6 separate regions of the Homo sapiens genome follow, and all the other regions are linked to region 1. Evidence: promoter capture Hi-C in 16 types of primary human blood cells and fetal thymus (Javierre and others, 2016). All regions are on one chromosome and are shown on one strand. The core of a region is centred on a gene start or on the middle of the fragment in contact, and the rest is flanking DNA. Distances in the headings are between cores, read along the strand shown. Region 1 holds the start of OLA1 (Obg like ATPase 1). Region 2 overlaps MAP3K20 (mitogen-activated protein kinase kinase kinase 20). Region 3 has its middle 6.9 kb from the start of CDCA7. Region 4 overlaps CDCA7 (cell division cycle associated 7). Region 5 has its middle 41 kb from the start of CDCA7. Region 6 has its middle 58 kb from the start of CDCA7.

Evidence for each region. The method cuts DNA at HindIII sites, captures the fragments that hold promoters and counts their contacts. A CHiCAGO score of 5 or more calls a contact.
Region 2: a contact is called between a fragment that was not itself captured here and the fragment with the promoter of OLA1 in region 1, in 2 of 17 cell types (total B cells and monocytes). The highest score is 5.4, in total B cells.
Region 3: a fragment that was not itself captured here is called in contact with the fragment with the promoter of OLA1 in region 1 in 1 of 17 cell types (fetal thymus); the score reaches 6.0 in fetal thymus.
Region 4: a contact is called between a fragment that was not itself captured here and the fragment with the promoter of OLA1 in region 1, in 1 of 17 cell types (fetal thymus). The highest score is 5.1, in fetal thymus.
Region 5: a contact is called between a fragment that was not itself captured here and the fragment with the promoter of OLA1 in region 1, in 3 of 17 cell types (total CD4 T cells, total B cells and non-activated CD4 T cells). The highest score is 6.1, in total CD4 T cells.
Region 6: a contact is called between a fragment that was not itself captured here and the fragment with the promoter of OLA1 in region 1, in 1 of 17 cell types (total B cells). The highest score is 5.2, in total B cells.

What each region holds. Positions count from the first base shown.
Region 1 is chr2:174,245,660-174,250,409 of GRCh38, forward strand. OLA1 (Obg like ATPase 1) reads right to left here and starts at 2,873. Exons shown (of 11, transcript NM_013341.5): 1 at 2,793-2,873; 2 at 1,056-1,156. The coding sequence starts at 1,156. RefSeq lists a silencer at 2,659-3,178. The HindIII fragment of the contact is 2,463 bases long and covers 783-3,245 here.
Region 2 is chr2:173,265,438-173,270,187 of GRCh38, forward strand. MAP3K20 (mitogen-activated protein kinase kinase kinase 20) reads left to right here. Exons shown (of 20, transcript NM_016653.3): 20 at 613-2,578. The coding sequence ends at 1,313. All of the region lies in intron 2 of MAP3K20-AS1 (MAP3K20 antisense RNA 1), which reads right to left. Among named protein-coding and RNA genes, the nearest start is that of MAP3K20-AS1, 14 kb to the right of the region's middle. The HindIII fragment of the contact is 4,780 bases long and covers 506-4,750 here.
Region 3 is chr2:173,345,593-173,350,342 of GRCh38, forward strand. No RefSeq gene overlaps it. Among named protein-coding and RNA genes, the nearest start is that of CDCA7, 6.9 kb to the right of the region's middle. The HindIII fragment of the contact is 2,231 bases long and covers 1,775-4,005 here.
Region 4 is chr2:173,361,182-173,365,931 of GRCh38, forward strand. CDCA7 (cell division cycle associated 7) reads left to right here. Exons shown (of 10, transcript NM_031942.5): 4 at 2,045-2,281; 5 at 2,637-2,714; 6 at 3,614-3,808; 7 at 4,271-4,411. Among named protein-coding and RNA genes, the nearest start is that of CDCA7, 8.7 kb to the left of the region's middle. The HindIII fragment of the contact is 1,295 bases long and covers 2,664-3,958 here.
Region 5 is chr2:173,393,306-173,398,055 of GRCh38, forward strand. No RefSeq gene overlaps it. Among named protein-coding and RNA genes, the nearest start is that of CDCA7, 41 kb to the left of the region's middle. The HindIII fragment of the contact is 3,447 bases long and covers 1,065-4,511 here.
Region 6 is chr2:173,410,376-173,415,125 of GRCh38, forward strand. No RefSeq gene overlaps it. Among named protein-coding and RNA genes, the nearest start is that of CDCA7, 58 kb to the left of the region's middle. The HindIII fragment of the contact is 160 bases long and covers 2,224-2,383 here.

The sequences.
Region 1 (4,750 bases), core at 1,623-4,122:
AAGGCAGGCAGATCACCTGAGGTCAGGAGTTCAACACCAGCCTGGCCAACATGGTAAAACCCCGTCTCTACTAAAAATAGAAAAATTAGCCGGGCGTGGTGGCACATGCCTGTAATCCCAGCTACCCGGGAGGCAGAGGCAGGATAATTGCTGGAACCTGGGAGGCAGAGGCTGCAGTGAGCTGAGATCACGTCACTGCACTCCAGCCTGGGCAAAAGAGCAAGACTCCATCTCAAAAAAAAAGAAGACTTTGAACACTTAAGTTGCGTGTGTATAGAGTTATGATAAACCCCACATATATTTCCTATCACTCTCTTATTTGCATATATTCAATTCACTGTAACTTTGAAAACATTACAGCTGGGCTCAGTGGCTCATGCCTGTAATCCCAGCACTATAAGAGGCTGAGGCAGGTGGATCATATGAGGTCAGGGGTTCAAGACCAGCCTGGCCAACATGGTGAAACCCCGTCTCTACTAAAAATACAAAAATTAGCTGGGCGTGGTGGTGCGCGCCTGTAATCCCAGCTACTCAGGAAGCTGAGACAGGAGAATCACTTGAACCCGGGAGGCAGAGGTTGCAGTGAGTCAAGATCATGCCACTGCATTCCAGCCTGGGCGACAGAGTGAGACTCCATCTCAAAAAAAAAAAAGAAAAAGAAAAGAAAATATTACAAAACTCAAATTTCTGCTCTCAGAACTTTCAGATTTAGACTCTTTATAACAGCAAACCTTTTACGATTTCCACTACGAAATTCAAAACTGTCACCTCCTTCTCCATCAAGCTTATTATGGTGGAGCTTTCAAATCAATTTCCTAAAGTAGCCTACTGCATGGCCTCTGGTAGACAGCCTATGTAGGTACCACACATAGCCAACCAGCACTGAAATCAATAAAATACATCTAAACTAAAGCCTAATTTTGCAATATTAATAGTCCAGCTTCCTGGCCTCTTTTCTTCAACTTAAAGTTTAATTACCTCACGGTTCCCATTTCTACAATAGGACCCAAAATATTTACAAAATGAAAATCACAAAAGCCCCAACGTTCACCTACCCAACATTTGGCAATCCAACAATACCAATTTTCAGTGAGGTTCCAAATCTTCCAATGATTGGGGGTGGTTTAATTCCATCACCTCCCTTTTTAGGGGGCATCTGAAATACCAAAGCAAACATATGAACAAAACTTTTTACTATCCACATGGACCCAAAACACATTTCATCACATACAATATATTATTGAATTAAGATTAAGAACAAAACATACTGTATATAGCGATCCAAAACTAACACAGAGCTAAATCCACTTTTTTTTCAGCAAAAATGTTTAAAAAGTTCTGTAAACATATCCGTTGTCAAAAGAGTCATTGCTGAGAAGTCCCAGAAAGACTGATCTAAAATCAATATTTGTTGGGCCGGGCACGGTGGCTCAGGCCTGTAATCCCAGCACTTTGGGAGGGGGAGGCCGAGGTGGGCAGACTGCTTGAGACCAGGAGTCGAGACCAGCCTGGCCAACACGGAGAAACCCCGTCTCTACTAAAAAGAAAAACAAATACAAAAAAATTAGCCGGCCATCAGGCGCGCAGCCTGTAATTCCAGCTACTCGGGAGGCTGAGGCTCGAGAACTGCTTGAACTCGGGAGGCGAAGGTTGCGGTGCGCCAAGATCACGCCACTGGGCTCTGCCTGAGCGACAAAGCTAGGCTCTGTCTTAAATAAATAAATAAATAAATAAAATATTTGTGGCACCAGGAATCAAAGATAAACTTAGAGTTTAGCTACCAATCTTCCATCCAGACTGCTCACAAAACACTTTATATCTTAACCTGATATATGGTTATATGAAAGAAAGCATTTGGAAGCAAGTACACAGAAGACAGTCAAAGAAAATTCCATTGTGGAACCACCAGCAGCCAAGTCACCCTTCACACCAAACCATTCCTCTATAATCTGGAATCTTATCTTTCCCATTCGCCCACAACCCCCATTTTTCACATAGATGAACACCCACCAGGTACTGGGGTCCTTCCACCAAGTCCCTCCCACCTTTGGCACTGAAGGTACGGCTCATCAGTCCTCATAAGCAACCTCCAAAATCTACATTATGGTTACTATTTCTAATGGTAAATTAATCGACGGAACCTTTTTATTTACAAGTCGAAACTTTCTCTGTCCCTTACTAGTTCTGTCTCCAAATCATGCGTGCAGAATTACTCCCACCCTTGGACTGCAAAGTGAAATCACAAAGACCGCTAAGCTCACGTCTCAGAAGCTGGGAACTAAAACTGTCCCAGTCTTCTGGCTGAGAGTTGTACCTCCTAGGACCACGCTGGGGCCCTGCCCTTGCAGTAGTATTCCAGCCTCTGATCCCTGACCCCGAGGGCCAGGAATTTCCCTTCTCAGCGTCCTGACACCTGTTCCTGGCCAACTCCCAGGCCTCCAAAGAACAGATACAGGAACAGCGCCTGTCGGGTCCTCTGGCCTACAGAGAGGTGGCCGGCAGCCCACCCAAAGTGGGCCCCACCCCCCATCCTCCTCTCCGGACTGGGCCACCGGGCGTCCTGGCGTCGGGAGAAGGCTTTCCCCAGGGCTTTCCCGCGTGAGGCGTAGGCCGATCTCCCGACGCGCGGCCTAGTCCGACAGCGCCTCATTCATCCACACATCCCCAAGCCACCCGCTGCCCTGGCCCCATCTTGGCCACTGGGCCCGGGCCCCGCGCCAGCCTCAGGGCAATGAGCCCAGGCGCCGAAGACCTGGCGGAGATCGCGCCCCCGGGCTCCCTGAGGGCCTCACCGTGCTCGGCCTGGGCGATGACACGGGGTCCCAGCGGCAGCGAGAGAAAGGTCCTGCCGGCAGCTGGAGGCGGGGAGGAAGGAGGAGAGAACGCAGGCCCGTCCCCTCCGCCGAGCGGCACGCACGACGGCGGCGACAGCGGCGGAACGGGCGGGCCGGGCGCCGAGCGGCACCTGCGCGCAGACCATGGGCCCCGCCCCTCCCCGCCTTGCCCGCGCGTCCCGCCCATTGGCCTAACCGGCCGGGGAGGCGGGAGTAGGGCGGGAGGAGCCCAGGGTGGGAGGAGCCGCGCGGCGGCAGGGAGCTGGAGAGGGGAAGGCGCTGGCTAGGCCGTTCCCGGGAGCTCTAGTCTTCCGCTTCGGCACGTGGGCTTCTCGGTTCTAGGTCTCCGCTTCCGTCTGGCTGCGCGGCCTGGGTTACCTGCTCACGTTCACTCGCGGGCCTACAGCCCCAAGCTTTCCCAGCTGGACTGCGGAGTGCCTTGGGCCCTGACTTCCCTCCGGGAGATCCGGGGCGTCTGAAGTCAGGCAAACAGCCACACCAGCCCCGAGGACCGCGTGGCCGCTAGCCCATCTCCCTTTTCTATAACTTTATTCGCTCAGTCTGTGCGGAGAGAAGCTGTTAACTAAAAGTTCTTGAAGGAAAAGGGGCTAAGGGAAACTTTGGTCTAGGGATTTCTTCCTCGCCTTATAGTTAAAGCGTCGCACACAGGTACTGGATCACAGAATGCGTTTAATTGAGCCAATTTCCCCCCTTTTCCTCTTGGTAGTTGAGAGCAGGGGCCTTTGAAATTTGGGAATTTCCAATCTGGATTTCGCCACTCATTGACTGTATGACCCTAGACAAATTAACTTCTCTGGACTTCAATTTCGTTCTGGATAAAATGAGGCTATTAAAACCACCTTATGAGGTTATTCGTGTGAGAATAAAATGAGACAATGCGTGTTGAGCTCATAACAACAGTACTCAGCACATACAGAAAAGGCTTGTGAGTAGTCGCTGTTGTTAATATTAGGATTTCATCCCATCTCACCCACATCATATCAATACCATGAGCGCCACTGGAGAAGGAATTCTTTCATTTAGGTCCTGGCCTTCAGATGTCATTCAGGTATTTGTTGTAATGAATATGATACCTGTCCAAAAATTGTGACACTAGAAGCTCCTTTTAAAGGGATTAGTTGCTATTAATATTAAAGGATGTAAATAGGTCGCCATCCCCATTTTACAAGTGAGGAAACAATATCAGAAAGGTTGATTAATTTGGATGAAGTCACACAACTAGTAAATGGCAGCAGCATATTTCAAACCACAATCTAACTGAAAATCTGGCCGTAATCCCAGCACTTTGGGAGGCCAAGATAGGGGGATCAGTTGAGCCTAGGAGTTGGAGAACAGCCTGGACAACGTGGTGAGACCCCATCTCTACCAAAAAACAAAAATTAGCTGGGTGTAGTGGCACATACCTGTAGTCCCAGCTACTCAGGAGGCTGAGGTGAGAGGATGGCTTGAGCCTGAGAGCTCAAGGTTGCAGTGAGCTATGATCACTGCCGCAGCACTCTAGCCTGGGTGTAGAGCAAGACCTTATCTCTAACAAAATAAATACAAATAAAAAGTAAAACTAAAACTATCTGAAAAATCTGTTTCCTTTCAGCGAGAATTCATTTTTATTTTTTGAGATGGAGTCTCACTCTGTCGCCCAGGCTGGAGTGCAGTGGCGTGATCTGGGCTCACGGCAACCTCCGCCTCCCGAGTTCAAGCAATTCTCCTGCCTTAGCCTCCTAAGTAGCTGGAATTACAGGTGCACACCACCACACCCAGCTAATTTTTGTATTTTTAGTAGAGACGGGGTTTCACCATGTTGGTCAGGCTGGTCTCGAATTCCCGACCTTGTGATCCACCCACCTCGGCCTCCCAAAGTGCTGTGATTACAGGCGTGAGCCACCGCACCCAGACGA
Region 2 (4,750 bases), core at 1,646-4,145, 980 kb before region 1:
AATACTTCTTATTCCCGAGCCTCAGGATCTCTCCTGTGGACACGTGAACGGTCTTTCTTCCAAACAATCTCTAGCTGTCTCAACCTTCGGAACCTCATTTCTCTTATCTGCATTTAGGGTCCTTGAGGTTTTAAAAATGCAGGTGGCAAAACAAACCTTTTGTTTACTAAACATGCCCCTGCCACCTGAACATACTTTCTAGAAGTAACAACACAACTATGTAGGAAGAAGATGGGATTTAGATGCAGAAGGACTTGGTATTATTGACTGAGTGATCTTGGGCAAGTCATTTGACCTCTCAAGCTTCCTCATTTATAGAATAAAACTATTAGTGTTTACCTAAGAAGATTACTGAGAGGATTAAATGAGATAGTGTAAGTAAAGCCCATGGAACAATGCCAAGCACATAGCATATATTGAATAAGTGTAAATGTCCTTATTTTTTAAAGTATTTGTAATAAAAGAAACGTCCTTATACATAGCCTAGAATTTCTATGAATGGTAAAGCTTAGAGCATCCCAAACAGCCCTGAATTATCCTAAGACAGGCGTATGAATTAGACATGCAGCTTTAGTGTGGCTTAAAAGATGCTCATTTCCATTTCTCCCGCAGGTGCTGATTGCCAGTGGTTAGATACTCTGAGGATGCGGCAGATTGCATCCAACACTTCTTTACAGCGTTCCCAGAGCAATCCTATTCTGGGGTCACCGTTCTTCTCACACTTTGATGGCCAGGATTCCTACGCTGCTGCTGTGAGACGGCCCCAGGTGCCCATTAAGTATCAACAGATTACACCTGTGAACCAGTCCAGAAGCTCGTCTCCTACTCAGTATGGACTGACCAAAAACTTCTCTTCCCTACATCTCAACTCTAGGGACAGTGGCTTTTCCAGTGGCAATACTGACACCTCTTCAGAGAGGGGTCGATACTCAGACAGAAGCAGGAACAAATATGGACGTGGTAGTATATCACTCAATTCTTCTCCTAGAGGAAGATACAGTGGAAAGAGTCAGCATTCCACTCCTTCAAGAGGAAGATACCCTGGAAAGTTCTACAGGGTTTCTCAGTCAGCACTCAATCCTCACCAGTCGCCTGACTTCAAGAGAAGCCCCAGGGACCTCCACCAACCCAACACCATACCAGGGATGCCTTTGCACCCTGAGACTGACTCAAGAGCCAGTGAAGAGGACAGCAAAGTCAGCGAAGGGGGCTGGACAAAAGTGGAATACCGGAAAAAGCCCCACAGGCCATCTCCCGCCAAAACCAATAAAGAGAGAGCCAGAGGGGACCACCGTGGATGGAGAAACTTTTGATGAATTGAACTACATAGCTTTTCTAAGCAGGTTAAAAAAAAAAAAAAAAAGAAATGTAATGGTTTTTGATAATATGATCCCTTCAGATTGAATTAACGAAAAGACAACACTTCCAGTTTTTGGATTGGGAAATACCTTCTAATTGAGACTATAGCCAAACCAGGGCCAAAATTATGGATATTGGTCACCCAGTGATCATAACTAGGCTTGAAAATCACTACACATATTTTCTGCCTTGAGTGAACATTTTTAGAGGAAAGGTTATGCCATCTTTTTACCCTAACCACTGATATTCTGGTTAGCAGGGCCAGGACAAGGGGAAGGAAAATGAGGTCAACAAAAAAATCAAATTTTTAGGAAAAGATAAGATGAATGTTACTGATTTTTCCTTTTGGCTGAGGCTGCAATATGGCCTGGCAAGGCACTGTTACTGATCTTGTCTTTAACATTTTGATATTTTGTTCATCATAATTTTTGCATTTATTTTTTTAAATATTGCATTAAAATATCATTTAGCTTGATTATCGAGTTTTTTGGTTTGAGGTTTTTTGTTGCTTCTTTTTTCTTTTCTTTCTTTCCCCCTCTTTTTTTTGGATGTCCCCTTAAATTTTGTGCCCAAGGCAGGTACCTCACTCATCTCATCCTTGGCTCAGCCCTGCTGGTTAGTATTTAGTATTTATTTTAGTAAGATATTTGTGTCTGTATGATGGTCAGAGTTGAACTGATCTGGCTTGTCATTTTTCAGTAATAAAAAAAGTTACTGAATTTAATGTTGAATATGATGCATATCTCATTCATTACGATTTATCAGAAACCAAAGATTTAAATTGCCTAGATTTGTGGTTCTTTCTCTTCCTAAGTTCCCAGCGACTGCTTTCAAATACTATTTTCTAAATTTCACCAAAGGAGCAAAGAGGATAAAACAACACTCCATAAAGGCCTCTTGGGATGTCAGAAATCTAAAATCTAAAAGAAAACAGACACAGAGCAAGACAATAACATCACAAGCTAAAAGCCAGAGAAATTTAAAATTACCAACATCCTTGTTGGAGTAAGACAGTAAATATCAGCCTTGCAGCAAGACAGCTCTGAGCAGCTGTGGGCAAAGAGGTAAACCAGTGGGGGTGCAAGGAGACTGTCTGCAGCTTAGGGCAGAAATGGTGGGATCCAACTTGTGAAATGCTTCATGTTTTACAAACCAAAAAGTCAGGTAGCAACAAACTTATTGTATGTCAAATCAATAAATGTTACTTTCAATATTCTGAGATTCTGTTCAGCATTCACTAACCCTGTTTAGCATTCACTAAGCCCTACATAGGATTCTCAGTGCTCTGTAGAAATCCAGAGGACACTCTTCTAATTCTGTGGGTTTGAATTCTTTTTTAAAAGAAGCTGGTCATCAGAGTACATGCATTTGTTCTCAGGGTAGCTCCCCTGCTGTGTGTGATACATTACTTGAGGCCTGGTGGGGAAAACTGTATTTCGGTAGCATTAAAGTCAACGTGGGTGGGGCATGGTGGCTCACGCCTGTAATCCCAACACTTTGGGAGACTGAGGCAGGAGGATTGCTTGAGCCCAGGAGTTCAAGGCCAGCCTGGGTCACCAGCCTATCTGGGTCAGATAGGGAGACACCATCTCTACAAAAAAATACAAAAATTAGTTGAGCATGGTGGCATTTGCTTGTAGTCCCAGCCACTCAGGAGACTGAGGCAGGAAGATCACTTGAGCCTGGCAGGTCAAGGCTGTAGTGAGACGTGACTGCACTGCAGTCTGGGCAACAGACCAAGACCCTGTCTCAATCAATCAATCAATCAATCAATACTAAAGTCAAAATTATAGGAAATGACCTTTATTTACAAGGGAAGTTGTCATCACCTAAACATTGATTCAACAACTTGATTTTATAAAGTTTTACTGGGTGCCAGATGTATTTACAAGCAAAAGCAATGGGAATGGTGTAGTCAGTTAGTGAGGGCCTCTTTTCCATCATGTGTAACCAACTTCTAAGGTTTTCAGCTCCACCATGATTCTTTCTCATGAAGCTATCAAGCACAGCCTGTTTTCAATTATTTTTGCTTTTTGTCCTTCATTTAAAGTAGACTAATGCAAAATATGCTATCTTAATATCATGCTGTTTCTAAATAAGCAATAAAATATTTTCTGTGATCGGAATTTTTGGATAAATAGATGAACAGTCTTGACCGAGTCACTCTGAAAGGAACACAAAGTATGGCCTTCATTGTGAAACAAAATTTGCATTCTGGGGAATTGCTGAAGAGTCTAGTTTAAAAGGCACTATGCAGATCGTTGCTAGTTTCATGCCACTTTCTTCCATCTTGCTTTCTTCGGTTATGGGGTAGGGAATCCAAGCTGGTAATAAAATAACTCAATGATCTCAGCCCTATTTAGTGCAGTCAGTGACTGCAAAGAGGTTATTCCACCAGCCCACAAAACTGACCACTTTGTAATATCTCATGGAAAAATACTTGTCAGCATCAATGCTCCCAGACAAAATCAGAGTAAGAACATCTGCAGTCTGCTTCTTGACTGTAAAGAAATAATAAGTTGGATGTTCTATTTTTTTCTTTTCCTAATGATGCTTATTCACCAAAAGTCACTTGCCAGGTTGAAAGATCAATGTAAGTCAAGAGCAAAGCAGGGATTAACAGGATTTTTTTTTCCCCATAAAAATAAATTAGTAGCCAACAATGAGAAACTATTAGTTGCAAGGAGTGAGGTGGTTAAGACCAAAAAAAAGAAGAAGAAAATAAAAAGGAAAGGGATATTATTCTAGGATTAGGAGAAAAAAATTACAGTAGAACCAAATCGAAAGAGTATATCTTGGACAGGGAACCTCTAAATGTGGAGATTTTCCCTAAATAGGCTTCAGAGCTAGTTTGGAAGTGCCAAGTCTACACTGGTTGCTACCATCGAGGCAGTCTTTAGTCCAGGCAAGGCCCAGACAAAGCAGGATGTTTAGCTCTTTGCACAGTCACCACATTAGCAATACCATGGACCTAGGCTGAATAACTGGATAATCCCAAATCTGTCTAGGAGAACTGGAGATTTTTTTTTTAATCAAGGACTACTTCTGAAAGAAATACAATTAGCAATTGTTTTCAGCCAATTTATAATGAATATTGCTCATAAAAATAAAAAGTATAATATTTAAAACTATTTACAGTAAAATTCAGAACAGTAAAATCTGACCTGGGAAAATTAGGTAAGAAACAGTAACTATAAACGAAAACTCACAGTGGCAGAAGCTATAATTGGTAACGAGCAGTATGAATAACAACAAAAAATTGATATGCAAATCTTCATTGTAAAATTAAAATTGAAAATAATCGATTCCATGGGAAAAAAATCAGTACAATAAAAAATCTGGCCAGGTGCAGTGGCTCACACCTGTTATCCCAGCACGTTGGGAGGCTGAG
Region 3 (4,750 bases), core at 1,640-4,139, 900 kb before region 1:
GTTTCTATGATTTTTTTTTTTTTTTTTTTTTTTTTTGAGACTGTCTTGCTCTGTCGCCTGGGCTGGAGTGCAGTGGTGTGATCTCAGCTCACTACAATCTCCACTTCCTGGGTTCAAGCAGTTCTCATGCCTCAGCCTCTGGAGCAGCTGGAACTATAGGCATGCACCACCATGCCCAGCTAATTTTTTCATATTTTTAGTAGGGACAGAGTTTCACCATGTTGGCCAGGCTGGTCTCAAACTCCTGATGTTAGATACAGCTAGGTTCCTCTTCAAACAGTTTGCCAAGTTCCCCCATTCTTTATTCTCTAAATTCCAAGTACCCCCCCACCCCGGCTTTTGCTGGGCATTAACCTGTCTAAATATGCCTAGATATGATAAGCCCCAGTCCACATTCCTTTCCTTATGTGGGAATAGGTTAGCTTTTTAGTCCCCCAGAAGTGACTGCTTCCTCCTCTCCCTCTCTCCTCTATTACGCGCCTACCTTATCTAAGAAAGTTTGAATATTTCACCAATCAGGACTAGTTTAGACTGTGCAGTCCAACCCCAGCCAATGGGGGAAAGACACAGAGGTAGAATCTGCATTACGAATAAAAATCCCTACTCTACTTTGTTCTGTGTGCTCTTGTGATCGTGACTGACACAGGCAGCACCCTTCTGCCAAAGTAAATTTGCCTTGCTGAGAAATCCTTTGTCTCAGTGCTGGTTCTTCTTCGCGGCAACTGACCTCAAGTAATCCACCCACCTCAGCCTCCCAGGCTGAGTGCCAGGATTACAGGTGTGAGCCACTGTGCCTGGCCTGTTTCTATGAATTTGCCTATTCCAAGTACCTCATATGAGTGAAATAAGGCAATATTTATCCTTTTGTGCTTGGCTTATTTCACTCAGCATAATATTTTTAAGTTTTATCCATGTTCAAAGGATCGAAATTTTATTTTATTATTTTATTTTATTTTTTTTAGACAGGGTCTCGCTCTGTCTCCAAGGTTGGACTTGGAGTGTAGTGGTGCTATCTCAGCTCATTGCAACCTCTGCCTTCTGGGTTTAAGTGGTTCTCTTGCCTCAGCCTCCTGAGTAGCTGGGATTACAGATGCCTGCCACCACGCCCAGCTAATTTTTTGTATTTTTAGTAGAGATGGGGTTTCACCATGTTGGCCAGGCTGGTCTGGAACTCTTGACCTCAGGTGATCCGCCCACCTCAGCCTCCCAAAGTGTTGGGATTACAGGCGTGAGCCACTGGGCCTGGCCCTGTGTTTAACTTTTGAGGCCTGCTGGGGGACTAATTTTGAATTCTAGGTTGATAGGACAATGTGCAGATTAGCCTCTTCCCTGGGACCCCCTACCAATATCTTGCATTGGTTTACTTCAGAAATTAAACCACCTACAAATGAGCCCTAAGTCTCCATTTAGTTAATAAAGTTCTTCTCTCTGCAGCAATTCTCTTTCCAAAGAGTTGCTTGAAAGGAACAGATCTGAAGAAGACATAAATGATTTATATAATTCACAACTAGGACAATTTAGAATAAGTTGCCTAAGTGATGAACAAAGACATTTAACACCTTTTATGGGTGTTTCCAGAGAAAAAAATGATCAAATTAAAAACAATGAAAAATTCTTACATAAAAACAGACAAAAACTTTGCCAAATGGAAAAAAGAAATTATGGAAAGGTGAACAAGTGACAGGGAAACTGTGGATGGTAAGAAGTAAGCTGAGTTAGGTTTTGGCTGTAATTCAGCTTCCATAGTGTTGGAACTGACTGATTCAGTAATCAAAGCTTGACTTTCCCTTGTGCAAAGTGTTTAATGATGTTTTAACACTAGCAGTTAATATATTTCACAATAGACAATGTTCATCCACGGAAAAACAAATATTTCTTCTTGCCAAAAAAAGGTCAGATTTGCACTCATTTTTCCATATTCCTTTTTCTAATCAGGTGTCAGATGTCAGCAAACTGATCTACTTAAAACAGTGTTGACATACAATGCAAAACAAACATACCAATATGGCTTGGAGAGCCAGCATTTGTGAACCAAACAGCCAGGGTGATAATGGGCTGGGCCCTCCAACAGAGCAGCTTTTGACAATTGAAGCCTAACGTTAGGCCTTTTAGCTATATTGCCTTTATGCATCCTGAAAGCAGGCACTGGAGACGTAAATCTGTAATTAGGGGTTATTTAAAACAGAGATTTGTGACCTGACAGACTGCAAACTGTCTATATCCACAAACACAGTGAAATTGCTCCAGCCCTTTGTCTCCAGGGGTATCTGGTCTATTGAAGGTCTCTGGTTTACAGGGGCGCTTGGGTTCATGTTATACCGCCTGAGAGATGGGTGCATGGGACCGAGAGCAGCACATGAAACATTAGCATTGTTTCTAAATCTCATCTAAAAATGATACATGCTATTAGCGGTTGCATTCTTTGTCCGAAAACCAGTCATTCTGAGTTGAAGTTTAACTTACCTCATTATGTAAGTGCTCTGAACCTCACAGTCAAGTTTCAAACTTAATAATAGGAAATGGAATTCTTTGTGCAAGGTGAATAAAAGGTATAGAGAAACACAGAATTCTTAGGGTTTGTAGTAGCCCAGGGAATTCAAAGCTCTTTAACAAGAGATTGATATTTTAGAATATTTTGAAGATTTAAAATTCCAGGGCTGGGGATGGTGGCTCATGCTTGTAATCCCAGCACTTTGAGGGGCCAGGGCAGGCGGATTGCTTGAGCCCAGGAGTTCGAGACCAGTCTGAGCAACATGACGAAACCCCCATCTCTACAAAAAATAGAAAAATTAGCCAGATGTGGTGGCCTACATCTGTGGCCCCAGCTACTTGGGAGGCTGATGTAGGTGGATTGCTGGAGCGCAGGAAGTTGAGGCTGCAGTGAGCCATGGCTTGAGCACTGCACTCCAGCCTGAGTGAGAGTGAGACCCTGTCTCAAAAAAGAAAAAATGTAAAAATAAAATAAAATTCCACCTACAACCACTTTAGTTGGAAAAATAGCTAATGCATGCAGGACTTAATACTTAGGTGATGGGTTGCTAGGTGCAGCAAACCACCCATGGCACAGATTTTCCTGTGTAACAAACCTGCACATCACATCCTGCACATTTACCCTGGAACTTAAAAAATAATTAAATTAAATTATACAAATAATACTTATAAATATAATAAGTATTTACTGAGTACCTGTTGTATTAACAGCCCTCATATCAAGTAGTGTCTGTGTAAGTATGTACTTATAAAATGTCATTTCCTTTTACCTTTTGCTGTGGCCTGTGCCATCATCTTTCCCTGGACACTGATTTTCCATGCTTATTCATTTTGTGTCTTTCATTTAAAATGAAAATATTTACCAGTGTGTGATTAATACAGTGACTTAAAACCTTTATGAGGCATCTAAAATTGCATGACAAACTTGCATTCCTATTTATAGGACCCTGTAAAGGAACTGTATATTTAACACAATAAATATATTGATATTGATTGTCAGAACAAACTCTCCAAAACTTAAATATTTTAAAATTATTAAATGTTTCAGATTAAAAAAAAAAAAGAAAAAAAAAAGCACAGAAAGTAAACATGTAAAAGACACCCATGTACTAATCACTGGCATTTGTCACATTTAACAATTTGCCATATTTGCTTCCCATGGTTTTTATTTTTCAAGAAAGCATTGTTAAAGCACTGACCTTAGACAAATTAAATTTAGCAGTTTAATGGAGCAAAGAATGTTTGCAAATCGGGGATCCCCTGAACCAGAGTAGGTTCAGAGAGGCTCCAGAGCAGCTGCATGGTGGAAAAAGATTTATGGACAGAAAAAGTGAGGTACAGAAAACAGAAGTGAATTACACCAACAGCTGGATTGGTTACAGCTCAGGGTTTGCCTTATTTGAACACAGCTTGAACAGTTGGTCACCCTTGACTGGCCAAAACATGGTGGTTGGTACAAGAGTAAGTTAGTCTGTTTATATACCCAGTTGGGTTACAGTTCATTGTGTATGGAGAAGCTTTAGGCTGAACTTAAAATATGTAAGGAGGCGGCTTTAGGCTAAACTTAATTTAACAGCATTAATGATAGCTGGGTGCAGTTATGTACACCCATAGTCCCAGCTATGTGGGAGGCTGAAGTGGGAGGATCACTTGAGGCCAGAAGTTGGAGGCTGTAATGTGCTATGATCACACCACTGCACTCCAGCCTGGGCAACATAGCAAGACCCAGCCTTTTTTTAAAAAAAAAAAAAGAAAAAGAAAAGAAGAAAGCATTAATAATAGAATCAAAGGACCCACCCTTGCCTCTTTCCTCCATCTTTTCCACCTTAAGTTAATTTCTGTGCTATTCTGCTTGTCTAGGTTTTTATACTCTCCCAACTTAGGTATGTTTTGTGTTTCTAAAATTTGCATAAAGGGTACACTTTACAGACACTTTTACTATTTGCTTTTTCATTGAACACTGTTAAGATTTCTCTACAATGATGCCAGTAAGCTATGCCATTAATTTGAACTACTGTTCAGATTCCATTGTACAAATACACCACTGTTCATGTATCCATTTCCCTTCTGAGGGGCATGTTGACTGCAGTATTTTACTATGATACATAATGCTAATATGAATGAACCATCCATCCCTCAAGTCCAGTTAGCTCTAACTTTTATAATAATCATATATCTTAAATCTGACTTCATCTGACCCCACAACTATCCCAGTCCAAGCCATCATTTGCTTCTCCAGGAGCCCATAGGTCTCCCAGCT
Region 4 (4,750 bases), core at 2,061-4,560, 880 kb before region 1:
CATTCATCAGTTGATGGATAAGTGGGTTGTTTGCACTTTTTTGGCTATTATGAATAATGCTACTGTGAACATTCATGTACAAGTTTTTGTGTAGTTTTTGTGTATACTCTTAGGTATATACATAGGAATAGAATTGTGGGTCATGTAGTAACTGTTTAACCTTTTGAGAAATAGACAAAGTGGCTACACCAGTTTACATTCCTACCAGCAGTGTGTGAGGGTTACAGTTTCTCCAAATTTTTGCTAATACTTTTTTTTATTTTCCTTTTGCTTTTTTTTTTTTTTTTTGAGACAGAGTCTCACTCTGTCACCCAGGCTGGCGTACAGTGGCATAATTTTGGCTCACCACAACCTCCGCCTCCTGGGTTCAAGCGATTCTTGTGTCTCAGCATCTGAGTAGCTGGGACTACAGGCATGTGCCACCACACCTGGCTAATTTTTTATATTTTTAGTAGAGACGGGGTTTTGCCATCTTGGCCAGACTGGTCTCGAACTCCTGACCTCAGGTGATCTGCCCATCTCAGCCTCCCAAAGAGCTGGGATTACAGATGTGAGCCACCATACCCAGCCTTCTTTTGCTTTTTAGCTCTACTATGAAGTGGTGTCTCACTATGTTTTGTGTTTTTTTTTATTTTTATTTTTCGGAGACGGAGTCTTGCTCTGTAGCCCAGGCTGGAGTGCAGTGGTGTGGTCTCAGTGATCTCTGCTCACTGCAACCTCCGCTTCCTGGGTTCAAGCGATTCTCTTGCCTCAGCCTCCCAAGTAGCTGGGATTACAGGCGTGTGCCACTGTGCCTGGCTAATTTTTGTATTTTTAGTAGAAACGGGATTTCACCATGTTGGCCAGACTGGTGTCAAACTCCTGACGTCAGGTGATCCGCCTGCCCCGGCCTTCCAAAGTGCTGGGATTATAGGCATGAGCTACCGCACCCAGCCTTGCATTGTGATTTTGATTTACATTACCCTATGGCTAATTTGGATAAATTTTTAATGATGAAAACCTATATTACTTTTGGAATCTGGAAATATTTTCATTTTGAACTTCTAAAAGTAGATTAGAGAAGTACCTAGAGAAGTCAAATGTATAGACAGAAAATAGGATGATGGTTGCCAGGGGCGGAGGGAAAGAGGGAATGAGGAATTACTGTTTAATGGGTATGGATGGAGTTTTAGTTGGAGAAGATGAAAACATTCTGGAGATGGATGGTGGTGATGGCTGCACAACAATGTGCATGTATTTAATGCCATTGACTTGTATACTTAGAAATGGTTAAAATGATAAATCTTATGTATATTATATTATATATTTTTTAAAGTAGAGAATTGAGATCTGTTAATATAATTTAATATTGCCATAAACATTGAAGCCATATTTATAGGGGAACACATTTTTTTCCCTTTTTTTTTTTTTCAAGACAGGGTCTGGCTCTGTAACCCAGCCCTGGCATACAGTGGCACGAACACGGCTCACTGAGCCTCTGCCCCCTGGGCTCAAGCCATCCACCCACCTCAGCCTTCCAAGTAGCTGGGACCACAGGCATGCGCCACCATGCCCAGCTAATTTTTGTATTTTTTTTTGCAGAGACGGGGTTTCACCATGTTGCCCAGGCTGGTCTCGAACTCCTAGGCTCAAGTGATTCACCCGCCTCAGCCTCCCAAAGTGCTGGGATTACAGATGTGAGCCACTGCACCCAGCCAGGAGAACACATTTGTTCTTGTCAGAATTCTTTTAAAATACATAAAGATCTGTTTCTAAAGAAATGAAAAGCAGGTGGTAGGAATTTTAACATTTTAAAAAAAGGCTCAGAACCACAGGCCTAGGGACTATGAAAATAGCTTATAACAGTGTGGTCCAGATGGGCTACATGGAATTAAACTGCACTCTGTTGATGTACTCTTTGTGGTTCCTGATTTTGTTACCCAGAGGTATCAATGTTCAGTTAAAATTCATTTCATACAAGTGTCTCATTGAAAAGGGACTTTGTAGTTATACTGATGCAGCTTGTCTGCTGATCAAGTCCTAATGACTCAATTGTTGTGATTAGAGGCTGCAGTCAGTTCGGGAAGGCTGTAGGACCCGCAGCCAGTGCAGGCACTCTGGACCTCTCAGGGTGGCGATGAAGTTTCCAGCGCGGAGTACCAGGGGAGCAACCAACAAAAAAGCAGAGTCCCGCCAGCCCTCAGAGAATTCTGTGACTGATTCCAACTCCGATTCAGAAGATGAAAGTGGAATGAATTTTTTGGAGAAAAGGGCTTTAAATATAAAGCAAAACAAAGCAATGGTAGGTATCTGACTTTGTGTTAGAATTAATTTTTCCTCTCTAAGCGACTCATTACTTAAATCTGTTCCATCACGCAAAAGTTATTTTTTTCTGTTACATGAATAAAAAGTTATTTTTGTTTACCTGTGAAGTCTTCAATGTGTGCCTCAAAATGTGTTTCTTTCCCTGAACTACTTTTTTTAAATCTGTTAAAGGCCTGGTTAAGTGTATAGGGGAAATCAGAAACTCTGAATGTGTCAGCTTACTATCAAATATAAAACCATGAGATGTACTTGAGTATTTTCCAGAAGTTAGTTGCTCATTTTCGACAGTTATTCTAAGCCAATGATATCAGTTTAATTTCCTCCCTTTTTAGCTTGCAAAACTCATGTCTGAATTAGAAAGCTTCCCTGGCTCGTTCCGTGGAAGACATCCCCTCCCAGGCTCCGACTCAGTAAGTACCAGTTCTTGTTTATATACAGTAGTGTTTTGGGCACACCTAAGGTCGATCTGTGTTGTATTTAAAAATCTAATTTCTTTATTTGTGTGGCCTTCTAGACAAACGAAGGGGACCTAGAGGAAACCCCCTGACAGATCTCTGGATGATCCTCCTTGAATCCTGGGCAGTTTGGTCTCTCCTTGCTGTGCTCCTGTGGCACTAAACTCCTTTTGATTGGTTCTTTCTTTCCTTCCCAGCTAGACTAAGCCCCTCATGGGCAGGTAATGAAGATTGAAAACTTTTTTCTGTTCTCCAGTGTGAGCACATTCCTCCTACATGGTAGATGTGCAATAGATGTTTTTAAAATTGGAGAATGAAAATAAAAGAAGAAAATCACAATTTCTTATCAAGTTGTAGCTTGGTATCATACACAATTGCATTCTGAGGAATTAAGGTGGTACAACTTAGGGAGATTTGGTGTGTCTGCTGTGATAGAAAAGATTTCTTTTTCCTGGCTTTCCCTGAGGAAAGGAAAGATGGAAAGAGGGAAGCCATACAGATATCCCTCTATTTTGCAGTGTAGAAACTGAATGTGTTTCTACAGGGTCAAGAGACATCAGAGAAAATTTTTTTTTTTAGAACAGAAGATCATTTCTTACATCTTCATTAAGTAAAAGAATAAATAGCTCATCTCTCAAGTTGAAAGAAACTGGGCTTGGTATTACAAAAGCAAAATTAAGATGGCCATATAGGTTTTAGGCTCATTTTGCCATGCATTATGCAAAGGACAAAGAAAAAGAAAAAATAGAGCTCTCTTTACTTAAAACATCCTTAAGGAGAAGCTATGAATTCCCCAAAGTACTACTTCTCTTTATTATGGAATAAATGGATTCCCTTATACGTGCTTTGTTTAGCAATCAAGGAGACCGCGAAGGCGTACATTCCCGGGTGTTGCTTCCAGGAGAAACCCTGAACGGAGAGCTCGTCCTCTTACCAGGTCAAGGTCCCGGATCCTCGGGTCCCTTGACGCTCTACCCATGGAGGAGGAGGAGGAAGAGGATAAGTACATGTTGGTGAGAAAGAGGAAGACCGTGGATGGCTACATGAATGTGAGTTCTCCGCATTGGTACTTGCTCTTCTGATTCTCATCTTCGGTAGGCCTGGCATCATACACAGCACAGGTACACGCACATCCTTAACACCAGGCGATCCATAGTAAATGTTTTCCTCTAACCATTCAGAACTGTAAACGTCACATAAGCTTACTTGGTAATTTTATTAGCAGGCGAGAATTGGGTTTTCTTCATCTCTTCTTAATTGTAGGCATCGTTTCCAAAATGTCCAGTTAGGCTACAGTAAGCGTATGGCCTGTTCCCCTACCATAAGCTCTAGGAGAGATTTCCAGGTTGAAGTTTGTGTGAAGAAATTACAAGTCAAGTATCTGAGATTCAAAGCTGGGGAGAGCCAGTTTTGAATCTCTGTGTTTCATATTTGAATCTGTTTTTTCAGTTTTGAATCTCTTTCAGTTTTTCAGTTTTGAAGTTCTGTGTTTTGTATTCCTTGTAATGCAGGAAGATGACCTGCCCAGAAGCCGTCGCTCCAGATCATCCGTGACCCTTCCGCATATAATTCGCCCAGTGGAAGAAATTACAGAGGAGGAGTTGGAGAACGTCTGCAGCAATTCTCGAGAGAAGATATATAACCGTTCACTGGTGAGAGCCTCTAAATTACACCTGAGAATGTAAACATCTGTGAGAGGAAGAGAGCTTCTGTCCCTAAGCGTTGCCCAGGTTCTAAAGGGCCTAGCATGTGAAATCTGTACCTATATGTTTTTTTCACACAAGGAAGGAAAAGTTTTACAGTATCCCTGGGATTTAGCCCTCTTTCACAGTGGAATTATCTGCTTAGTAAGTCTGTAGTCATGGTAAATCTTTTCTCCTAATTTAGAAATCAATTCATTCAACATATATTTACTGCATATCTATTATGTGTGTATACATAGCTAGGTGCTGGAGTGTGGTGGTACACCAAAGATAAAAGTGGATTTGGGT
Region 5 (4,750 bases), core at 1,538-4,037, 850 kb before region 1:
ACCAGTTTCTCTTCCATTTAAACAAATTCTATTCAATTCACTTGCATTGGCAGAGCACACCAAAATCTTAATTTTCTCAGCCATGGAGAGTGAAGTCAGCTTGGGAGCTTTTTAAATGTGGATTTTGTTCTTTTTTTTCATCCTAACACATGCCCAGAAAAAGAAAATACACCCTCTTCTCTAAAGCAATGAAAGTGCATAAAGTTTTTCTCCTAAAACCCTTCCTGGCCAGGAGATTATGTGTGAGTGAACCTAAGTATATCTTTCCTATTGGCTTAAAAGAAAAACCCAAGCAAATAAACACTTGTTTTTAAAAATTCAAATCTAAAAAGTGAAAATAAAATTTTCTCTCTCACAGTCTCATTACCCCAGGGATAGTGATTAATAATTGGCATTTGTATCATGCTTTTGAAATAAAAGGTGGGTTGCATTGTCCATAGTGTAATGCAAAAGGCCATTTTCACTCCCTGTTAGACACTTCTCTGTGGCAGAACACAAAGATCCACCTCATTCTTGAGTAGCAGCCAAGGATTCCATAGTTTGGCTCTCTATAATTTATTAACCATTTTCTATCGGATATCTGGCTTTCTACAGATTTTTCCATTAAAAACCTAGATATTGAATCTAATTTTGTCTGAGATCCAGTTGTAATTCTAGCCAGAGATCTTACTTAGAGAGATCTTGGAGACAATCATAATTGTTGGTTGATGATGGCTTTTACCCATTTCTATTCCCAGAAAAGAAGGAAGGCGGCAATCCACAGCCAGTGCATGGCCTGCCTAACATACACAAACGTCCATATAAAACCTCTTTCCTTTTTGCACCCCAGCCTCTTCCAACCTCTTTCCCTACAGGATCTCCTTCTTCTTTCAGATGGAAAGGAAAAGGTTCCAAGAACAATTTGGGGGCCTGGACTTGGCTGATTTACCCAAACTTGTTTGGAGAAATGACTTCATTGTATGTTTCTGGCTCTATATTCCTGGTTTTCTCCTACAGGTTCTCTGGCTTGCTCTGCATCTGGGAAGTGAGGACTGTTGTCTATAGGAAGATTTCCAGTGGCTGGAAGCTTATGGCTGATGATGTAACTCAGCACCAAGTTCACACCAAATCCAGCATTCCTAATTCTAACAAGGTGCTCTTGATCCAAACTTAGGGCATTTGAGGCTCTACGTTCTTTCTCCCCTTCCTTTGTCAGCAAAAACAAGAGTAGGTCAGTAAACTGAAAACAGCGCAGAGAGGACAGCTTTCAGACTTGCTTAGTCAAAGAGCAGAGCTGCGTGTGTTGTGTTTGCACTGTCAGCCCACAAAAAAACAGAGAAGATTTAGGGAGAAAGGAAGGCTATTTACTGGAACAAAATACACGACAGTTCACATTACATATTTTCTTGATGGACACAAAGTGACATCCATACTGATTGACTGTCGGCATGTGCCTCTCCACGGAGCCAGGTTCTGTGTGATGGATAAGCCAGTCTCTGGCAAGTGTCAGGAAGATTATCAAAAGAAAGAGCTGTCTGTAGTTGTTCCCTTTCTGAGGAGATTGACAACTCACCCTAACAAAGGGAAACATTAGTGTGCTATTTGCGTCTCCCAAAGAGACTGTGATAAGATGATGTGATAAATGGTGGGGTGGGGGTGGGAGGGAGGTTGCCATAAAAACACATAAGGTAGCTAAATCGTGAAGTGCAAAGAAAACCTCGGCTCCCACAATTGATGAGGCTTGTTTATTTTAAAAAGGTGAGCTCTTCTGAACAACAAAATTGCCTGCAGCATAAGCACTGGTTGGAGAACAGCAGAAGTTCTCCAACCAGTGTTGCCAACAGCTTCAAGGGAAATCTTAAGTACTCCATGTCCTACCCTTTCCTCTAGTTGCTTTAACACGACCACCGAGAGCATGCGAAAGAAGACACGCCGTGATGTGGAGCAAACCTTAGGTACATCTTTCTCCTCCATGAAATTCAGAGTGGGCTCTGGGTCTGGCATAGCCCCAAGAACAGGGGTTTGTATATGAAATTCACAGAGGGAGTTTATTATGATTCAGAAACAAACAGGGTGAACTTGAGTGTATCCAAATAGGAAATTGTCCGCCAGAGAGGATTTACCCACAACTGCAGCCACTGTCACCCCTCATTAATTGCAGGGATGGCACCAATTTCCAGTGTTTTCAGGTCATCTTGGCAGGCTTGCTTCCCAAGCTAATATATGTGGAAGTCGATGTGCGGTGAACAGGTTGGACTTGGAGATGAAAAGTACTTTGACGGATTGCTAAAGTTCACTGGCACCTTCAAGGATGTTAAAAGAAAAACTTCAGCCGAATTACGAAGTTTAATTGAGCAACGAACGATTTGTGAATCAGGCAGCCCCCAGAATCACAGGAGATTCAGAGAGACTCCAGGGATGCCTCGTGGTCAGAACAAATTTATAGACAAAAAACGGGAAGTGACATACAGAAATCGGAGGTGAGCTAAAGAGACAGCTGGACTGGTTACAGGTTGGGGTTTGCCTTATTTGAACACAGTTTGAACACTCAGCGGTGTGTGACTGGTTGAAGTATGTCTGCTGGGATTGGCTAAGACTTAGCGATTGTTACTGGTGCAGACTCCTAAATTAGGTTTTCAATCTCATCTACCTATTAAGTTAGGTTGCAGTTCATCCACAAGGGCTCAAATATAGAAGTACGGAGTCCTTCTCAGGCCACATTTAGTTTGCTTTAACAGGGAGCACCTACTTTTTTCCTGCCTGACCCTGCATTTTCACAGCATTCCCAGCCCCCGAGTGCTACCGGGAAGTCTCTGGCTCATGGCAAACCAGACCCTGTCTAGCAGGCAGGGACGTCTCCTTTGGCCTGAGTTGTACTGAAAAGCCAGGCACTGGCAGGGATGGAAAAGAAAGACTCTTCTGAGCTTTGTGTGCTGTCAGCCATAAGAGCATTGACTAGTTGGCGAGTATCACATTCTGTCCACATGTTGGTGTCGGTAGAAAACATGGTCAATATAAAAAACCAGTAATAACACCGGGAAGCCTTTCTAATTTATCAGTGTTTCTTCCTACTCTGTGGATACTGGCCTCTACTATTACATTCTTTTCATGACCTATTTTTCTATATTTTTTCAATGTCATACTTTCTCCTGAGACTTAAAGCCGTTTGAATCTTGGAGTGGTTATCCTTTAATCCCTGTGTGGTTTGCATTTTCTCTTTTCTTTTCTTTTCTTTTTTCTTTTCTTGAGTTTTGCTCTTGTTGCCCAGGCTGGAGTGCAATGGAGTGATCTCAGCTCACAGCAACCTCCGCCTCTTGGGTTCAAGCGATTCTCCTGCCTCAGCCTCCCGAGTAGCTGCGATTATAGGCATACACCACCATGTCTGGCTAATTTTGTATTTTTAGTAGAGATGGGATTTTGCCATGTTGGCCGGGTTGGTCTTGAACTCCTGACCTCAGGTGATCTGCTCGCCTCAGCCTCCCAAAGTGCTGGGATTACAGGCATGAGCCACCGCGCCTGGTCTGTTTGCATTGCATTTAAAGCTGTTCCCTTAAGGACGACTGGATGGGAGGCTGAGGTGACTCTTTCACTCACTCCCAATTGATGATGGGAGGGCTACAAGAAACAGGAAGACAAATTCCACTAGTGTGTCTTTGTTGATCAGTGGGAATGACATGATCAGGTTATGCCACTCACCAACTTGGTGCTTTCCAAGACATTGGGAAGCCCTCACCTGGCCTATGGAGGAGGCCAGATATAGGGGTGTTTCCCTCCACATTTAGGTGGCCTCCAGGAGAGAAACTGGCTCCTTCTCCCTGGGGCCAATATTTATCTTCTGAAGGCTTCTCGGATCCATGGATTCCCTAGAGAACGTACGTCATGCTGTTTCCTCTCAATTGATCTTCTTTCAATTCATGCCTGTAGACAACCACGATTTTTGGATAAAATCCAACTCTTTTTTTACCCTAGAGAGTGTCTGGATTACATTACAGGTTATGGGGCCCTCTAACCCCTAGGATTATTGAGGCAAACCAAAAAATGTTTAAGAAAGCCTAGATCTAAAGTGGCCTGTATTTATTATTTATTATTTTCAGACTTGGTAAACAGAAAGTGAGATCCAAAGTGATTTAGAAACAAGTATAGTTGAGGGGAATGGCAAAGTGAGCAGTCAGTCAAAGAAGAAAAGTTTTGCAAGGAGTGGAGAGAAAATGGGTGGCAGGCAATCAAGCTAGACAGAGGAATCAGGGACATTGGAAGGAAAGAAGAGGGAGAATGTATGTGTGTGTGTGGAGGGGGGCGAGGGTGGGAGTGGGGAGAGTGAGAACAAACAATAAGAAGGCCAAGGAGAGAAATCATATTACTTGAGCAAAAACCGGAAACAATAGCATCAAAACAAACAAAACCCAGAGAACAGAGTCCTTCCCAAATTTTCCAGGGTTAGCAGCATCCACCAGGTGATCTGACAGTGACACCAGGTGGCTGATGACACCACGTAGAGGCCTTACCTTAAATCATTTTACCCTAAAAAGCCAAGCTTTGTTTTATAAACCCATCCTTAATGGAAACGGAATGGAAAGAAACCTGGAGATTCTGTATTCCAACTCCTTTACTTTACATTTGAGGACACCAGGTCCTCAAGTTATCAAAACTGACCCACCAACCGAACAAACAAAAAATACAGTCCAAGCGTGCAGACACAGCACTTCATTTTAACCAACTCTGTGACTCTAGCTTTTGTTACTTTTAATCTTTAAAAATAAAATATATCTTA
Region 6 (4,750 bases), core at 1,054-3,553, 840 kb before region 1:
GACTTTGCTTGTTGTTCCACAATGCTACCTGTGAGCTGCCTAGCCAGCAATCCCACAGTTTTGAAAGCTCAATTTCTTGGGGCAGAATGAAAAGACATTGAATATCTGAGCGACTGTCTTGAAATAATTTAGCAAAACTAGATTTGTTTTAGAGCACACAAAACATGAAAGATATAAAGGGGAGGACCTGGCATGAACGAGTGGCCACTATTTCCCAAGCATTCTCCATATATTTTTTTCATTTAATAGTTACAATTACCTTGTGAAGTAGGTATTACCATCTCCCATTTCCAGATGAGGAAACAACACTCAAATTTGCACAATTAATCAGGGGCAGGGCCACTATCTGAACCCAGCACCGGCTGACTCAGAAACTTGAGCTGTTTGTTTGTACCGGTGCATCTCAAACTACACAATAGTATCATCTGGAGTTAAAAATACATCATTGCCTCAGCTCCACAGCCAGAGACTCTGAAGTCATTGTTCTGGGCTGGGGACAGGGCATTAGTATTTTTTTAGAAACTCACCCAGGGATTCTAACAGACGGCCAGGTTAAGAACCATGATTATATCATACCACCTGCAAAGTTACAAACCCACTGTAAGTCACTACATTTACTTGAACCACATAAGTCATAACTAATGAATACCCTGCCATCTATACTGTGGGGCATACAATAAAATGTGGATGTCGTTGAACACGACTCATTATCAATCCTTTCTATGAAGTCTTCATGCATTTGCCATTCCACAGTGGATTGTACTGTCCCCTTTTTTTCTCACTGCAGTTCAACATCTTAAGATGTTTTAAACAAGTTCATTGAGCTGTATTCTGGTAGTATTCTGGTAGTGGTTCTATCATACCAAGCCCATTAAATAAACTCAGGAAAGGAAATAATCAAATTAAGCTGTATATCTACAGGGTCAAAGATTGGGTTAAAATCTTAAAACTTAGACATTTCCAATAGTTAATTTCTTTCTTTCTTTTCTTTTTTTCTTCTTCTTTTTTTTTTTTTTAGAGAGTCTCACTCCTTAAGTGATCCTCTCACCTCAGCCTCCTGAGTAATTGGGTAGTACACCACCACTCCTGGCTAATTTTTTGTATTTTTAGTAAAGACAGGGTTTCACTATGTTGCCCAGACTGGTCTTGAACTCCTGGGCTCAAGCTGTCCGCCCGCCTCTGCCTGCTAAAGTGCTGGGATTACAGGCGTGAGCCACCATGCCTGGCCAACGGTTAATTTCTTTTGTTCATTATCGTGACCTCAATCATGATCTCAAAACTAATTTGATTGGATTTTTGGTTTGTTTCTAACTCGAATCTAGCTATTTGCCTGACAAGTTCTTCTGGTGCTGCAGAAGTGCATTCTGTGGATGAGAAATGGTAAAATCTAAACCTGAGATATTATTCTTTTTACATATTAATGCCATCACTTTCTCCCAAGTCTATGGAGGGCTATTTATAAGGCACAAAAATCCTCAAAACCAAACCCCCAAAAAACAAACACTCATAGCCTAAGAGTTAAATTATGTAAGCAATATTGTTGTGCTTGTGGTTAGAAATAGTAACACTTTTTGGAAGAAACGCTTCAAAATGCTAACAGTGGCTATCCCTGTTGATTAGAGGTATATGTAGAAAATATACAAACTAAACCCAAAAACTTGTTTGAGATTCTTAAGTCTGCTTACATCAGTGGTCCTAGTGGTCCTACTTATTATCCTTTTTTTTTTTTTTTTTTTTTTTTTTTTTTTTTTTTTTTGAGACGGAGTCTCGCTCTGTCACCAGGCTGGAGTGTGCAGTGGTGCAATCTTGGCTCACTGCAACCTCCGCCTCCTGAGTTCAAACGATTCTTCTGCCTCAGCCTCCCAAGTAGCTGGCACTACAGATGCCCGCCACCATACCCAGCTAATTTTTGTATTTTTAATAGAGACTGGGTTTCACCGTGTTGGACAGGATGGTCTTGATCCCTTGACCTTGTGATCGGTCTGCCTCCACCTCCCAAAGTGCTGGGGTTACAGGCATGAGCCACCATGCCCGACCCCTACTTATTATTCTTTCCAAGGCAATGGCTCTGGGTCATTTTCACTTTTTTTTTTTTTAAACTGTTTGCATCTTAGTGCAATGACTTGCTCTAATAAAAGCCTTCTGTTTTAAACATATGGGAGAAGAGATTAAAAACACTTACATTTTTGCCGAAAATCCTTTAACATGAAAAAATGTTTCCAAAGCTTTCTCAGACTTGAATTTCTTTGAACTACTGTTTCTCTCTATATGTTTTTTACCTGATTCTGATTCCAGATTTTATTGAATAAATAAAAGCAGAAGTATTGTATGTGGTTTAACAGGAAGAAGATAAACTAAAATAAGGAGGCTTAATTCCAGCAAAAGCTTTCAACATCACACAGTGTACAGATTGAGAAGGCAGATGCTGGAAGCAGAGGCCTGTGGGCTGATCCTGGTCACGTGGCCTGGGCACCTCACTTAACCTCATTTTCCTCAATTTCATCTGCAAAGTGGGGACTAATATTTAGCAGCTTCCTAATAGAGTTGCTGTGAGGATTAAATGTGTAACTGTATGTAAATGCTTAGAACACTACCTGGAAGTGCTCAATAGGTGACAGATGTTATTGCTGTTGTTAGATCTGTAGGTCAGTGGCAGAGCTAGTAAAACTGTGCAAAGTCTAACGTGGGTAGCCTGTATTTTTAAAAAGCATTCTATTTCCTTTCGTTGAGCTGTTCTTTGCAAGGAGGGGCCTCGTGAGGGGCAGGGATTGGAGAACGGAGGGTATCAGAGTGACTATTTGGTGTCCTTGCTTCGGTGCCATACAAAAACTTGGTCATTTGTTTTTATCCCTGGATGCTGCTCTAGGAACTTCAACAGATACTAAAGACAGGTGCAGAATTATGTCCTGGTGACTAGCAGTTTACTCTCTTGGCCAGGACCACAGGCTAGAATTTTAGTAAGAGATCATCCTCTGAGCCTGGACTTAGGAAATAAAAAGACCTTTTTTTTTTTTTTTTTTAACATAAGGGTACCGAAGCGTTGCAGCACATAGCTGTCCTTCCTTCCTTTTTTTTTCTCATTCTTTTTCTTTCCTTTATGATCAATTCTTTTAAAAACAATCACTTATAAAAACTTGGTTGCCAACTGATCAATAAAAAGCATTGACTAAAAATAGAATAAGTTAACGAAAATGCAACTAAAAAGTTAATTATGTTGTTAACGTAGTTAATAGCACACATGACTTGCCCATTGTTGGTGTTTTGCTGCAGTATCCTAGTACCCTGGGCCTTCCCAGGAGATGTAAACCCCTCTCTTGCTCCCATCCCCTGAACATGCTCATACACAGAGCTCATTCCCCCAGTCTCCTTTTCTTTTCCTCCTTCTACCTCAGGGAACTCTCCTACAGCCTGCTCTGGGGACCAATTTTATGCTGAGGGCAGGAGCTGCTGGCTCTGACGCGGCTGGGGCGCGTTGACCTGGAGCTTTTGTCTGGGATTTCTCACCCCTGTCTCCGCCATGAGGGCTCCTCAGAACCCATGGGCTCGGAAGAAATGCATTTCATTATTTCGACCAGCTTTTACTTAACTATTGTGTTAGATTACAAGACTTTCCAGCAAAATTAAATATTAGAATAAAAATTATTTGCAAAAGTACTCCTCATGTCTTCTCTTGCAACTTGGACCACATTTTGAGTGCATGCAGTTAACTATAAGGCATTCTTTCTTTGGCTACGAGTTCAGATGTCTTGTCTTTATTAGAAAACAGCCCTGTGCAAGCCCCAAATTGCTCATATTTCACTTTTTATCTTTTGATTCACTTAGTATATTATTCTCAAATCACTTTTTCCAATTCTTAACTAAGTTGTCTTTTTTTTTTTTTTTTTTTTTTTTTTTTTTTTGAGACGGAGTCTCGCTGTCGCCCAGGCTGGAGTGCAGTGGCGCAATCTCGGCTCACTGCAGGCTCCGCCCCCTGGGGATCACGCCATTACTAAGTTGTCTTTAATTTTTGCCTTTGCACCTTGGTATCCCCTCAACCCTAAGGCGTATACTCTTATTTGCCTTAAAGAAATGGAGTAGGCTGGGCGAGATGGGTCACACCTGTAATCCCAGCACTTCGGGAGGCCGAGGTGGGTGGAGCACCAGGTTAGGAGTTTGAGACCAGCCTGGCCAATATGGTGAAACCCTGTCTCTACTAAAAATACAAAAATTAGCCAGGTGTGGTGGCACACACCTGTAATCCCAGCTACTGGGGAGGCTGAGGCAGAAGAATTGCTTGAACACAGGAGGTAGAGGTTGCAGTGAGCTCAGATCACACCACTGCACTCCAGTCTGGGTGACAGAAAGAGACTCCATCTCAAAAAAAAAAAAAAAAAAAAAAAAGAGAAATGCAGTAAACCTAAGCAACTGCCTTTCTGCATGTAGTCCCTTCCCTAATACCCCCTGAAGATTGTGCTTTCAGTAACTTCTAGTCATGGGCTTCCCCCCCTACCATGGGATAAAGAAACTTACATGTCATTGTCCATATTTGCTTAGAGGACTGGTAAATTTGATTAGTCACAACTAAGCCATCAGACCAGGAACCAAGAAAAAAATCTTAAGTCTCAGATAAAGCCCTCTTTCATTAGAATATAGATTTGCTGGATCTGGATGGATCTCAGAAAGAAATTAGATTTGTCTCAACACTTTCTAGATGAAGAAACCAAAGACCCAGAGGTTACTTTTTTTGGCCAGCTGCCACATGACTAATGGC